Linked DNA regions of Homo sapiens: regions 1, 2 and 3 are each linked to region 4. The links are contacts of gene promoters, found by promoter capture Hi-C in blood cells and fetal thymus (Javierre and others, 2016). All regions are on one chromosome and are shown on one strand. The core of a region is centred on a gene start or on the middle of the fragment in contact, and the rest is flanking DNA. Distances in the headings are between cores, read along the strand shown. Region 1 has its middle 58 kb from the start of DLEU1-AS1. Region 2 overlaps DLEU1 (deleted in lymphocytic leukemia 1). Region 3 overlaps DLEU1 (deleted in lymphocytic leukemia 1). Region 4 holds the start of DLEU1 (deleted in lymphocytic leukemia 1).

What was found. Contacts are between HindIII fragments. The CHiCAGO score rates a contact against its expected background, and 5 or more counts as called.
Region 1: a contact is called between a fragment that was not itself captured here and the fragment with the promoter of DLEU1 in region 4, in 1 of 17 cell types (naive B cells). The highest score is 5.1, in naive B cells.
Region 2: a contact is called between a fragment that was not itself captured here and the fragment with the promoter of DLEU1 in region 4, in 1 of 17 cell types (activated CD4 T cells). The highest score is 6.0, in activated CD4 T cells.
Region 3: a contact is called between a fragment that was not itself captured here and the fragment with the promoter of DLEU1 in region 4, in 1 of 17 cell types (fetal thymus). The highest score is 6.0, in fetal thymus.

Annotation. Positions count from the first base shown.
Region 1 is chr13:50,584,006-50,586,810 of GRCh38, reverse strand. No RefSeq gene overlaps it. Among named protein-coding and RNA genes, the nearest start is that of DLEU1-AS1, 58 kb to the right of the region's middle. The HindIII fragment of the contact is 7,498 bases long and covers 1-2,805 here.
Region 2 is chr13:50,367,440-50,370,139 of GRCh38, reverse strand. All of the region lies in intron 2 of DLEU1 (deleted in lymphocytic leukemia 1), which reads right to left. Among named protein-coding and RNA genes, the nearest start is that of DLEU1-AS1, 160 kb to the left of the region's middle. The HindIII fragment of the contact is 1,094 bases long and covers 755-1,848 here.
Region 3 is chr13:50,493,130-50,495,869 of GRCh38, reverse strand. All of the region lies in intron 5 of DLEU1 (deleted in lymphocytic leukemia 1), which reads right to left. Among named protein-coding and RNA genes, the nearest start is that of DLEU1-AS1, 33 kb to the left of the region's middle. The HindIII fragment of the contact is 554 bases long and covers 1,181-1,734 here.
Region 4 is chr13:50,080,673-50,083,424 of GRCh38, reverse strand. DLEU1 (deleted in lymphocytic leukemia 1) reads right to left here and starts at 1,256. Exons shown (of 7, transcript NR_109974.1): 1 at 868-1,256; 2 at 231-283. All of the region lies in intron 1 of DLEU2 (deleted in lymphocytic leukemia 2), which reads left to right. RefSeq lists enhancers at 332-1,127, 2,745-2,752 and silencers at 1,285-1,334, 1,735-1,954, 1,818-2,112. The HindIII fragment of the contact is 5,734 bases long and covers 1-2,752 here.

The DNA of each region.
Region 1 (2,805 bases), core at 162-2,661, 500 kb before region 4:
GAGCACAGAAGATGACAATACCCAGAGGAAATCTGAAAAGCAGCATGAAGGTAATTACAGATTGGAAGGAAACTTATTCCAAAGACTTAGAGCTATATAACCTGGCCCAGCGACTGCATTGCTAAAAGGAAACACAATAGTGGTGGATATGAAATGAACATTCAAAAGGCATAAACAAAGGCTTAGGCTACTCCAAGGGAAACATAAATTCAGTGATGTGATGGAAAATATAGGCTTGATTTGAGGAGAATTACTATATTGGGAAGATCTATTAATCTGTTGATAGTCTCTCAAAGAAAGTGATGGCAGCTTGCTAGCTTGCTTCATTTAAAGTCAGTCTGTATGAGGAGCTGGAAAATACATTTCGGGGAGCGGGACTGAGCAGCGGGAGAGGGATGGGTTGCCCTCATAAATCTTGTTCATTTTTCATCTTGATGATTTTTCTCTCCCGTTTCCTCCCATTCTCTTTGTATTCTCATCCAAATGCCCCTCAGAACAACAAAATCCTCTCCCATGGAAATTTCTTCCTAGGCTAAGGGAAGGGAGGTGCTGCCCCATGGACTGGGATTGTGAGTGGGGTGGATAATTGGTCTGTTTCACTCAGGTCCTGCAAGGCCAACAAAAGGGGGGTTTGCCCCATGGGTTATCTTCCTCTGCTGGCCTGGCTTCTCTGTGCTCAAGTGGGGCCTGTGTCTCCCCTGCTTGGTACCCAAGGACTAAACCTTTAAGATGCCAGCTCTTAAAATCAGGAGTCGAAACCCCAGTACAGAGGGCTGAGATGATCCAGGTGAGCTAAGACACCTTTTCAGCTCTGGTCAGGAGACTGAGCGACAGCCTTTCACACCCTTACAGCAGGAGTGTGACAATTTCCCTAATGCTTTTTCAAGGGCTTTCATTTTTATCCAAATAGCTTCTAGCATTGCCAAGTAAAAGGAGAGGTGTTGCTATTGTCCAAACTATAAGCGAACAGCACAGTCTTATGTGAATCCAATTGAACGAGAGTTTTGCTGGAAGGTCCAAATAGCAAACCACTTTTTCCAGATGTCACAAAGCCTGAGGTCTGTGTGAAGGAAAACGCAGTGCTCTGGACTTTTCATCTGGTATATCTGTGGAAAGACCCCTTAAAGAAAATGTTTACTTCACACTCAAGCTGCTCTGAGCTCTGAGGGTGCCCCAACAGCCCCTTGATTTAGTATTTCAGAAACACACTCTTGTGTGAGAGGCGAAATTATCCTGGGAAAAAATGGGACTTGGACCCTAGGTTTTATTTGCTGAAATAAAGATTGCAGAAATAGATAGGGACAGAGAAAATGGTTTTGAAATATGTTCCTTGTTATAACCCTGTTGCCAGCACTTAAATAAAAGGGGGTTTAAAGAAGTAAATCCCTGCTCGGCATCCCAGGGGAGCAATTCTGTCTTAGGGATCTTTGCTGACACAGCTGATGCATACTCAAGACATCTGCAGGATGAAGTGCTCTGTGGCTAAAAGTAGAAGAGAATCCACTAAGAAATAGCCACACCGTGTGGAAGCGAAACCTCATCAAGCTGTGCAAATGTGGCTCGTGGAGAACCTAGCCTGATTTCCTGGATTTACACAGTACGCAGTATAAATCATAAAACCCAAAGAACGAATTAGACTTTTAATCATAAAATATTAGCATAAAAAGGCCGAAAGCTGACACCAGCTTTGTTCTCCGAGGCACACAAAGGGCTCCCTTAGCCTTCCCACCTTGACTCACTCACATTCCTTGTCTACCACTCTGTCCCAAGTCCCTGTCCTCTGCCTGTCTCCCAAGCCCAGTTTATCAGACTAAACGTGTGTCCATTGTCAGAAAGCTAGCTTTGTTCCATTCCTTCTAAGTGGGTACATACACTTACCATCCACTGGGGTTCCTACATGTTCCAACGGGTTAGGGGCACCTTGTTCATGGATAAGTAAATTGGCTTCTGGGAAGCTCAGCTTATTATGCAGTATCTCTGGCATTTCAGAGGTTGGGGAGCTTGGGTTCTTACTGTCACTTCTGGCTCTTATTCCTGCTCCTGAATTCCCTAGTGTCACTTCTGGCTCTTATTCCTGCTTCTGAATTCCCTTTCTCTTGTCTATTTCTTACCTCTGGAATGTGCCATCTCTTCTCTGTACTACATGACCTTACACTGAATATCCTACCCATCTACCCCAAAGCTACAGACTTTTACTGAAGGTTGGGGATTGCTATGGTGTGAACGTATGTATCCCCCACAAATTCATATGTTGGAACCTAAGACGCAGCGTGATAGTATTAGGAGGTAAGGCCTTTGACAGGTGATTAGGCCATGAGGGCTCTGTCCTCATGGATGGGATTAGTGCCTTATAAAGGGCCCTAGCCAGGCCCTCTTGCCCTTCCACCATGTTCTGTGTAAGGACACAGCATTTGTTCCCTCCAGAGGATGCAGCGACAAGGCACCACCTCGAAAGTGAAAAGTGATCCTTCATCAGACAGAATCTGAAGATGCCTGGATCTTGGACTTCCCAGCCACCAGAATTGTGAAAAATAAGTTTCCATCATTTATAAATTTCACAGTTTAAGGTATTTTGTTATAGCAGCAGGAATGAACTAAGACAGGCTTTATGAAGTCAGACAAGCAACTGCAATGCAAAACAGCACAGAAAACAATGAAAATTAGGCACGAGATGCCTAAATTTCCATTCTCACAGCTGACATAATCATTATCCATCCCAGACTGTTTCTGCCTCTTTCCTTTGTTTCTCTCTATTCACTTGCTCTCATCTTCTCTATTTGCACCCATTCTCAAATTTCCAATCTT
Region 2 (2,700 bases), core at 52-2,551, 290 kb before region 4:
AAATGGAATCATTGGATCATATGGTAATTATATTTTTAATTTTCTGAGGATCTACCATACTGTTTCCCATAGTACCTGTGCCATTTTACATTCCCACCAACAGTGCACAAGCGTTTCAATTTCTCCACATCCTTGTCAACACTTGTTACTTTCTGAAATGGCAGGGATTTCTGTCTATTCTATTTGCTGGTGTATGCTAAGCATGAAGAACAGGGCTTGACATGAAGTCAGCACCTGATAAGTATTCATAGAATTCAACTGTAGAACTGGTGTTGACAAGTGGCCCAGGATGGCCGGGGTTTGAACCTTGGCTTACACACTCAGACACTCCACATGGACACATTATTTGGCCTCCCTGAAGTTCAGGTTGTCATTCATCTGCAACAGCACCTATCTTGAAGGGTGTTGTCAAAGCCCAATAAGATGAGAGATGTAAAGCTCCCTGCCCACTGTGTCTGATACAGGACTCTCTTGCACATTTCCTTCCTTCCACACTGATTCTCTTGAACAGCACATTAAGCTGACTTGGAAAAAGACTATCAGTAATCAAGTTTGGTTAGAGAGAAGTCATTGTCTTTTTTGGTTAAGTTTCATTTGATCACCTCTTGATTTGTGAATCTAAGAGAAATCCCATCGACCCACAACCTCCTACACTGCCTTTTTTCTTCTTCGTAGCACATATCATTACTTGAAAGTATATGCAATGTCTATTATTTTTATCTGTTTATCCATTTTCTCTACCGGAACACAAGCTTCAGGTAGGAAAGGTCTTTGTTTTTCTTGACTACTGCCACATCTACAAGGCCCAGAACAATGCCTGCAACATAAAAAGTCTCAAGAAATATTTGTTAAATGAAGAATTCATTTAAACAGTTACTAATCACCTGTACAGGTATAGGCACTATGCTTACTACTGGGCATCCTATATAAATAAAATACAATTCCTGCCCTCAAGGATCTCACAGTTTAATTAAAAGATGATTATAAACAAATTATTAAATATAGTTTGAGATGCACAGTAAAGGAGCAGGTAAAAAATTATACAAAGAAAAAAGGTATTAAGTCTATCTGGAGGATGTTGTCAAAGAAGGCTTTCATAGGAAAGTGTCCCTTATGAATATTTTGAAGATTAACTAGGGTTGTTTCAGTAGGAAAAGAAGGAAAGGGCATTGTCAATTTAAGTGATAGTTAAGGTCACAAAGACAAGACACATAAGGCTTTATTGTGGAAACAACAAGTAATTTTGTGTAACTAGATATAAAGCTAAAGGGACAGTGTGATGCAACAGGAGCCCAGAGCCCAGAGGGGGCATAAATCATGGAGGCTTATTCAAGCATCATGCTTAGACTTGATGCTATAGATGATCAGAGCCACCAAAAGGCAACACACAAATAGATATTTATTTTAAGGAATCTATATGGCCCTGGTATGGCTGGAGGCCAGTTGGGAACCCCAGAGCTTCCTGGAGGACACCCACCATGGGGATTGGACCAAGCATTCCATTTTCATTCTCTGGGGGCTACAATGGGCTGCTAGACTGGCAGCTGGGTGCTGGACTCAAATTTGAGTCTTCTCATCTTCAAACTCTTCATCTTCTCAAACTGAAACAGCAAATTCTGAGAGTCTGAATCTCTGTTCTGACACTTTAAAGAACACTTTTTCAGGGTCCTAGTCACTGGGGTTTTAGAGCGGCTGCTTGAGTTAGGGTAGTTATATAGAATGTGGAATAAATAGCCATTGGACCTTTGGCTTTAACATTACACATTTCAAATTCTGTTTTATCTATAGAACTAACCTGGCCTATACTTGTGTTGACCCACTAGTAAAAAAGAGAATGTCTATTAAGCTTGGGCCAATTTATACTCTTTGAATGAATGTGTTCTGTATGGTGGGAGGAGAAAGATTTGGCCATACATTGCTACATCCCATGTTGCCTATGGACAAGAGTGTTCCTGACTGTATTCCTTTCCTAGGGCTACCATAACAAAGCACCATACATTGAGCAGCTTAAAACAGAATCATATTCTCTCACAATTCTGGAGGCTAGAGGTGTAAAATTGAGGTGTCAGCAGGGACATGTTCCCCCCTAAACCTGCGGGTGAGTGTCCTTCCTTGCTGCTCTCCTAGCTACTGGTGATTCACTGGCAATTTCTGGCATTCTTTGGCTTGTAACTGCATTAATGCCAGTCTCTGCCTTAGTTGTCACGTGGCATTCTCCTCATGTGTCTCTGTCTTCACAAAGCCACCTTCTTATAAAGACACCAGTCATATTGGGTTAGGGGCTACTCTGGTCTGAATGTTTGTGTCCCCTCAAAACTCATATGTTGAAATCCTAACCTCCAAGTTGATGGTATTAGGAGGTGGTGACTTTTGAGAAGCCATGAGGGAGGAGCCCTCATGAATGGGATTAGAACCTTTATAAAAGAGACCCCGTAGAGCTAGTTTGCCCCTTCCCCTATGTGAGGACACAGTCAGAAGGCACCATCAGTGGACCAGGAAATGGGCCCTCACTAGACACTGAATCTGCTGGTATCTTGATCTCAGACTTCCCAGCCTCCAGAACTATGAAAAATAAATATCTGTTGTTTATAAGCCATCTAGTTTATGGTATTTTGTTATAGCAGCTCAAACAGGCTAAGACATGAGCCCACTCTGCTGTGAGGGAGAACCTGTCCCAGGTCTCTCTCCTGGCTTCTGGTG
Region 3 (2,740 bases), core at 208-2,707, 410 kb before region 4:
CTGATGTATTTTTATGATCAAAGAAAAACTATGTACTTAATGCAAAAGATGGAAAGAAATACAGCAGATTCTCCCATAAAGCTACGTTGTTTTCAAAAACCTAGAACTCTGCAAAGTCAGGCATTGTCAATAATAGGACTTATCAGTAAAAACAGAGTCTATACAGCCCAGAAAACTTATAAAACTGTGTAATGAAAACAATCAAGACAATAGCAGAGTTAAATCTTCTGTGGCATTTGCCCAGCATCACAGTCGGATGATCTTTTTCAGCTTTAAATACTGGAACTTAGAATTCCTTCTTCAAGAGGAAAGTCTTTGAGGGCATTTGCTTCTAATAGAGACCAGTTTCATCTCAACTTTAAAATCTATTTAAAGTCTATAGGAATTCAAAAACATGTGCTGGGATAATAATTTTTATTATACATCAGCTTTGTTTCTTGAGGCATATTGATTGGGCTTTTTCATGAATTGTAAGAAAGCTTGCTTCTTGCTTTTATCTCTTCAAAACATTAAGGTGCTTGGAAGAAAGATCTCATATGAACCTACATGACTTCTACCACGATACAGCAGAACAGATGGTGCAAAAAAATACAAATATTAGTTCTTTCTAGCAAAGCTGCATCACAGGAGAGGATCCCCGAAATGATGAGACTTAGAGCTTACATAGGGCAGCTAGTGCATTTGCCCCTCATTTCTTCTGGAAAGAAAGAGAGAGAGACTTTCACTCTGGAATGTAAGAAACCCTCTCTGAGGATGTGAGGGAAAGGTCCCTAGGTTTTTGCTACCCAGAAATGTAATGCAAATGACTCTATGGCAGCGAATTCTCTAAATCTGTCTGGAACAATACACTATTTCTAGCTTCTCAGGCATATTTGCTATTCAATTATTGTTTAACCATTTTTGCCAATTTTCTTTGCTCAGAAAGCCAAGACTGTGCAGAAACGTAAAAATATTCATGGAAAATTGTCTCCCAACACTACCCTGGAACTTGTCATCACCCCAAACCTCTCTACCACCCAAGTCACTAAATCAGTTTCCTACTAACTCCTTTCTATCCAGCTAGCTAGTTCGACTCCTCAGATTACAAGTGTTCTTCAACTTCTTCAGGGCCCCTTCCATTGACTCTTCTACTCTCTTCCAATCTATCAGCCTTCTTTTTCAAATTCCCCCTTTCTAAGCTTGAATTTCATTATATGTCATTTCAATAACATATTTGCCAGGGCCCCAAACTCCATTCCTTTCTGTCTTTATATTAGCAGCTGCTAACAAGATCCCAGTGTTGCCTGAACCCAACTGTCTTTTTTTCCTTTTTTCCCTTAATCTTTCTAAACCCAAATACGGAAGTATTGCTGATGAAAGCCACACACAGAGTGGATCTGCACTGTTGTGAAGTCATGAACATCAAAACCAGCACGTCCTCAACACATATCAGCAAGATTTCCACAAGCACCTGTCAGTTCTCTCTCCCACCTCTCTAGTGAATTTCTCAAACTTTCTCCAGTCTCCTCAGATCTCTGACTTGCTTTTTTATCTTGCACCTTTCCTTCCACTCTTAACAAATGACCTCACTTCCTACTTTACACAGAAAACAAAAGCCACAAGACAGGAACTCCCACAAAAATGGGCCCTTATATCTGCACCCATCCCATTTTTTCTCCTTTCTGTAGAATAAAATTAGCCCTTCTCCTTTCTAAGGCCAATTGCTCCAATCATTACACTGGCTTTCAGGAAGCTTTCACTAGCTCTTTTTTCTTTTTTTCATTCAGCATTTCTCTCTTGCTTGGATCTTTCCCACTGACATTTACTTACTCAAGTTTCTCCCATCTACAAAGGAAAAAAACAAAATAAAACCTCCTTATACCTTCTAACCAGTCTTCCTACATTGATACTTGCTGCCTTCCCAATCTGTTCTCCACCCTGCAATCTTTGTGTTCTTTACAAATTACACAGTCACCACCCCCCTCCACAACCGTGCCCCACTTAAATCTCTTCAGTGGTTTCCCTAACCCTTCAACTGACAACCCAAACCCTTCACACGCCTTACAAAGTCCTGAATGACCTGACATATGCCCATATTTTCAGCTTTATTTTGCACCACTCTCTTCCCTCACTCTCTATACTACAGCCTGACTGTTCTGTTCACAGTCCATCAAACGTACCACAGCCCTCTGTCCCCAAGGCCCTTGCACATGCTGCCCAAGAAGTTACCTGTGGCCTCATTCTGTTAACCTCTCCCAAGCCCTAAGTGGCCAGCTCACCCACTTCAAAAATTATCTCATTTAGGCAAGACTTCCCAGAAAAACCAAGTCAGATAACTTTCCTTTAGAATAATTACCTCTGAAATACATATTTGTGATTATTTGATTAGTTATCATGTCCTTCCACCAGATCATAAGTTCTATTAAGGAAAAAAAAATACAAAATTATTTAACTGAAGCCCAGCTAATAGTAGGTAAAGTACTAAAAATACTTTTGATGAATGGATGAACAAGTAAAAAAATGAATGAAAGAATGAATGAATAAATAAACCAATGAATTAATTAAGACTGACACATTACTGGTCCTGTAATCTAGTTAGGATTTATAAGGGGTCATCCACCCAATTCTAACTAGATTACAGGACCAGTAGAAGTTGTCACAAACACATCACTGGTGTTCTATTTCTAAAATAACCTGGATTATATACTGAAGGAAGGAAGGGTTAAGAGACCCATTGCAGTCTTCTGCACATCCCCTACCA
Region 4 (2,752 bases), core at 7-2,506:
CCTGTAGTCCCAGCTACTCGGGAGGCTGAGGCAGGAGAATTGCTTGAACCCGGGAGGCGGAGGCTGCAGTGAGCCGAGATCGCGCCACTGCACTCCAGCCTGGCGACAGAGCGAGGCTCCGTCTCAAAAAAAAAAAAAAATTACAACTTTATTATCGTTAATTGTCCTATCAGAGTGCCCATTTTTTTTGAAGGTAGACAGGTTTGCCTAGATATGGTGCTTCTACTTACCAGTTCTAAGACTTTGGGGCAGATTTCTTAATCTGAACCTCAGGTGTCCTCATCTGTAAAGTGAAGATAATACCTACTTCATAAGGCTGTTGTGAGCAATAAACACGATTAATTCGTAAATCATTTATTTAGCACAGTGCCCAGCACACAGTACACAGTCAATACGTGGTAGCTGTCAGTATACCAACGTGTTGCACAACAGAAACTCGTCTTTGCTGGATTCAGTTCACTTATCACGCCATTAAAAAAAAAAATCATCCTAAGTGACACAGAAAAACTGCCCATTCCTATCTCAAAAAGTTTATGAACAAGTTAAGACGGTAAGAGAAACTGAATTCAATGAAAGCGCCTTCGCAACAGGCAGCTTAGGACCGGGAAGAAGGGCTTCAGCAAACTTAATCATTAACTCTAGGCAGGCGCGCGCGCACACACACACACACCGTTGAAGAAGGAGACCACGCCTCCTGTGTGGGCTCAGGTTGAATCGTACAGCGTGGTAGAGAACTCCAGGGCTGCTGAATCTGACAGATGTGGATTCATCCACTTCTGTGCCACCTGTGCTGTCTTGGGCAAATTACTTAACGTCTCTGAGCCTAGGTTTCCTGGTCTTCAAAACGAGAACAGTAATAGTTCCTACCTGGTAAAGTTGTTCCGAGGCTTAAGTGCGATAACCCCTGTAAAGCGCTGGAGAACGGCAAAAGCTCTACAAGCCGGCAGGGCGGTTTTAAATGCACGTGTATCCATATACAAGGTCTCATTGATACATTCCGTTGTTTGGAGTTTAGACACTGGCTGTAAGACGTTTTTCTTTTCTCCTAAGCAGGACCCGTATTTGTTTACCTCCAACGTAGACTAAATGCCTGTGGGCTGGTAGCTATAAGACGACCCCTCGGCCCCACAACCTCTAAGTTCACTTCACCTCCGCGGCTTTGCAAAAGCGCTACACGCACGCGCAAGAAGCAAGAGGACTGCAACCGAAGAAGCAAAGGGAGAGCCGTGCACCACGATGATTCTGCGCATGTGCCTGGCGGGAGGAGGGGGGAGGGTTGGAGTTTGCGCATGCGTAAAAATGTCGGGAAAGCAAGAGAAGGGGGGTTAAGAGGCGGTATTGACAGCTGTGGAGGCAGCCCGCGTTCCCGGCATTCCCTGGGGCGGCGGGGTTGGCTCTAACGAATTTGAATGAGGAGCCTCAGCGCTTTCGGCGCCATTTTCGAGTGATGCCTGATCTCATCAATCTAGCGGGAGAGACAGGATAACCTGTCCGAGAGTATAGCGCCACTATGACTCCGCCGGAAAAATTACTTTAAAAATCGCCAAAAATTACTTGGAGCAAAGGGCAGTCGGCGGAGCTTCGCCAAGGCTGGCGCAGTCGGTAAGAGCCTGAAGAAGTAGCAGAGCGGGACTCGGGAGGTGGCAGTGGTGGGACCCGCAGGCAGTGGTGGGTGCAGGGAGTGGGCGCGGGGTCTACTCTCACTTAATCGCGAAAAATCCGAGGAAGTAGGGTTAGGGGCAACTTGGGCGTCTGCGAGTGGGCGGCGGCGGGCGGAATGTGGCGGGAGCGCGGAGAGACGGGGCTGTGGGGGGAGGGGAGCTGCAGTTTGAGCGGGACGCGGACCGGCTGCGGCGGAGCAGCCGCCGCCCAGCGGATCTGTCAGCAAGACCCCCCGCCCGGGACCGGAGCCGGGGACGGCGCACTGCGGGGTCTCTGCAGGCGGCCGCTCCTTGACAGGAGGACTGGACGCGCGCCCCTCCCCCATTTCCGAACCGGGCCGCCTTTTCTCGCCGTTTTCTCGACCCGGTGATGGCCGTCATCTCGTGACAAGAAACTTAAGGTCGACAGAAAATTCAGGACCCGGAGTCATGGGTCCCTCCGGTGGGTCGTGGCAACAGTCCCCCCCGCCACCGCCCGGCACCCATCTATCTATATTGTCTTTTGACGCTGAAGCGTGAGGTGCCCCAGGAAAGAGTTTCCCAAGCCCTGGCTGCCCTCCCCCGGCGCGCTGGGTCCCGGTGAGGTCTCTAGGTAGGTAGGACTGGCCGCGGCTCGCGCTTCCAAGATGGGGCAGGGGCAGGCTTTTGAGGTTGTAGCGGGCTCTTAGGAAAGATGCTGGACTTTAGCTTCTTTCTGGGGATTTTTGTCATTTGCTCTCGCAGCGTTGTCCTTTCTCAAAGGGGAGGAGTGTTCACGGGTGAGATGAAAGATGGGGCTTCGAGCTAACGATTTCCTTCTCGTGGCTATTTCCTCCGAGTCGCACTTTCTTAGAAGACTTTTTTCTTCTCCGGTGTTTGAAACATGTCGCAAGGAAAAAAGCAATCTGTGAAACTATTAATGTTTTCCTCCCCCAAAAGTCTTTACCCGGACAACTTAACGGTAATTTTGCGATCCCCACCTTTTCTTGACGCTGAGGAGGAGGGACGAGAGTTGTTATTTGTCTTTCCCTTCGGTGATTTTTTTTTTCCCCCTTAGCTGGTGGTTTCTATCAATTCTTACTCCACAGCTCTTGAGTGATGTGAGCCAGTGA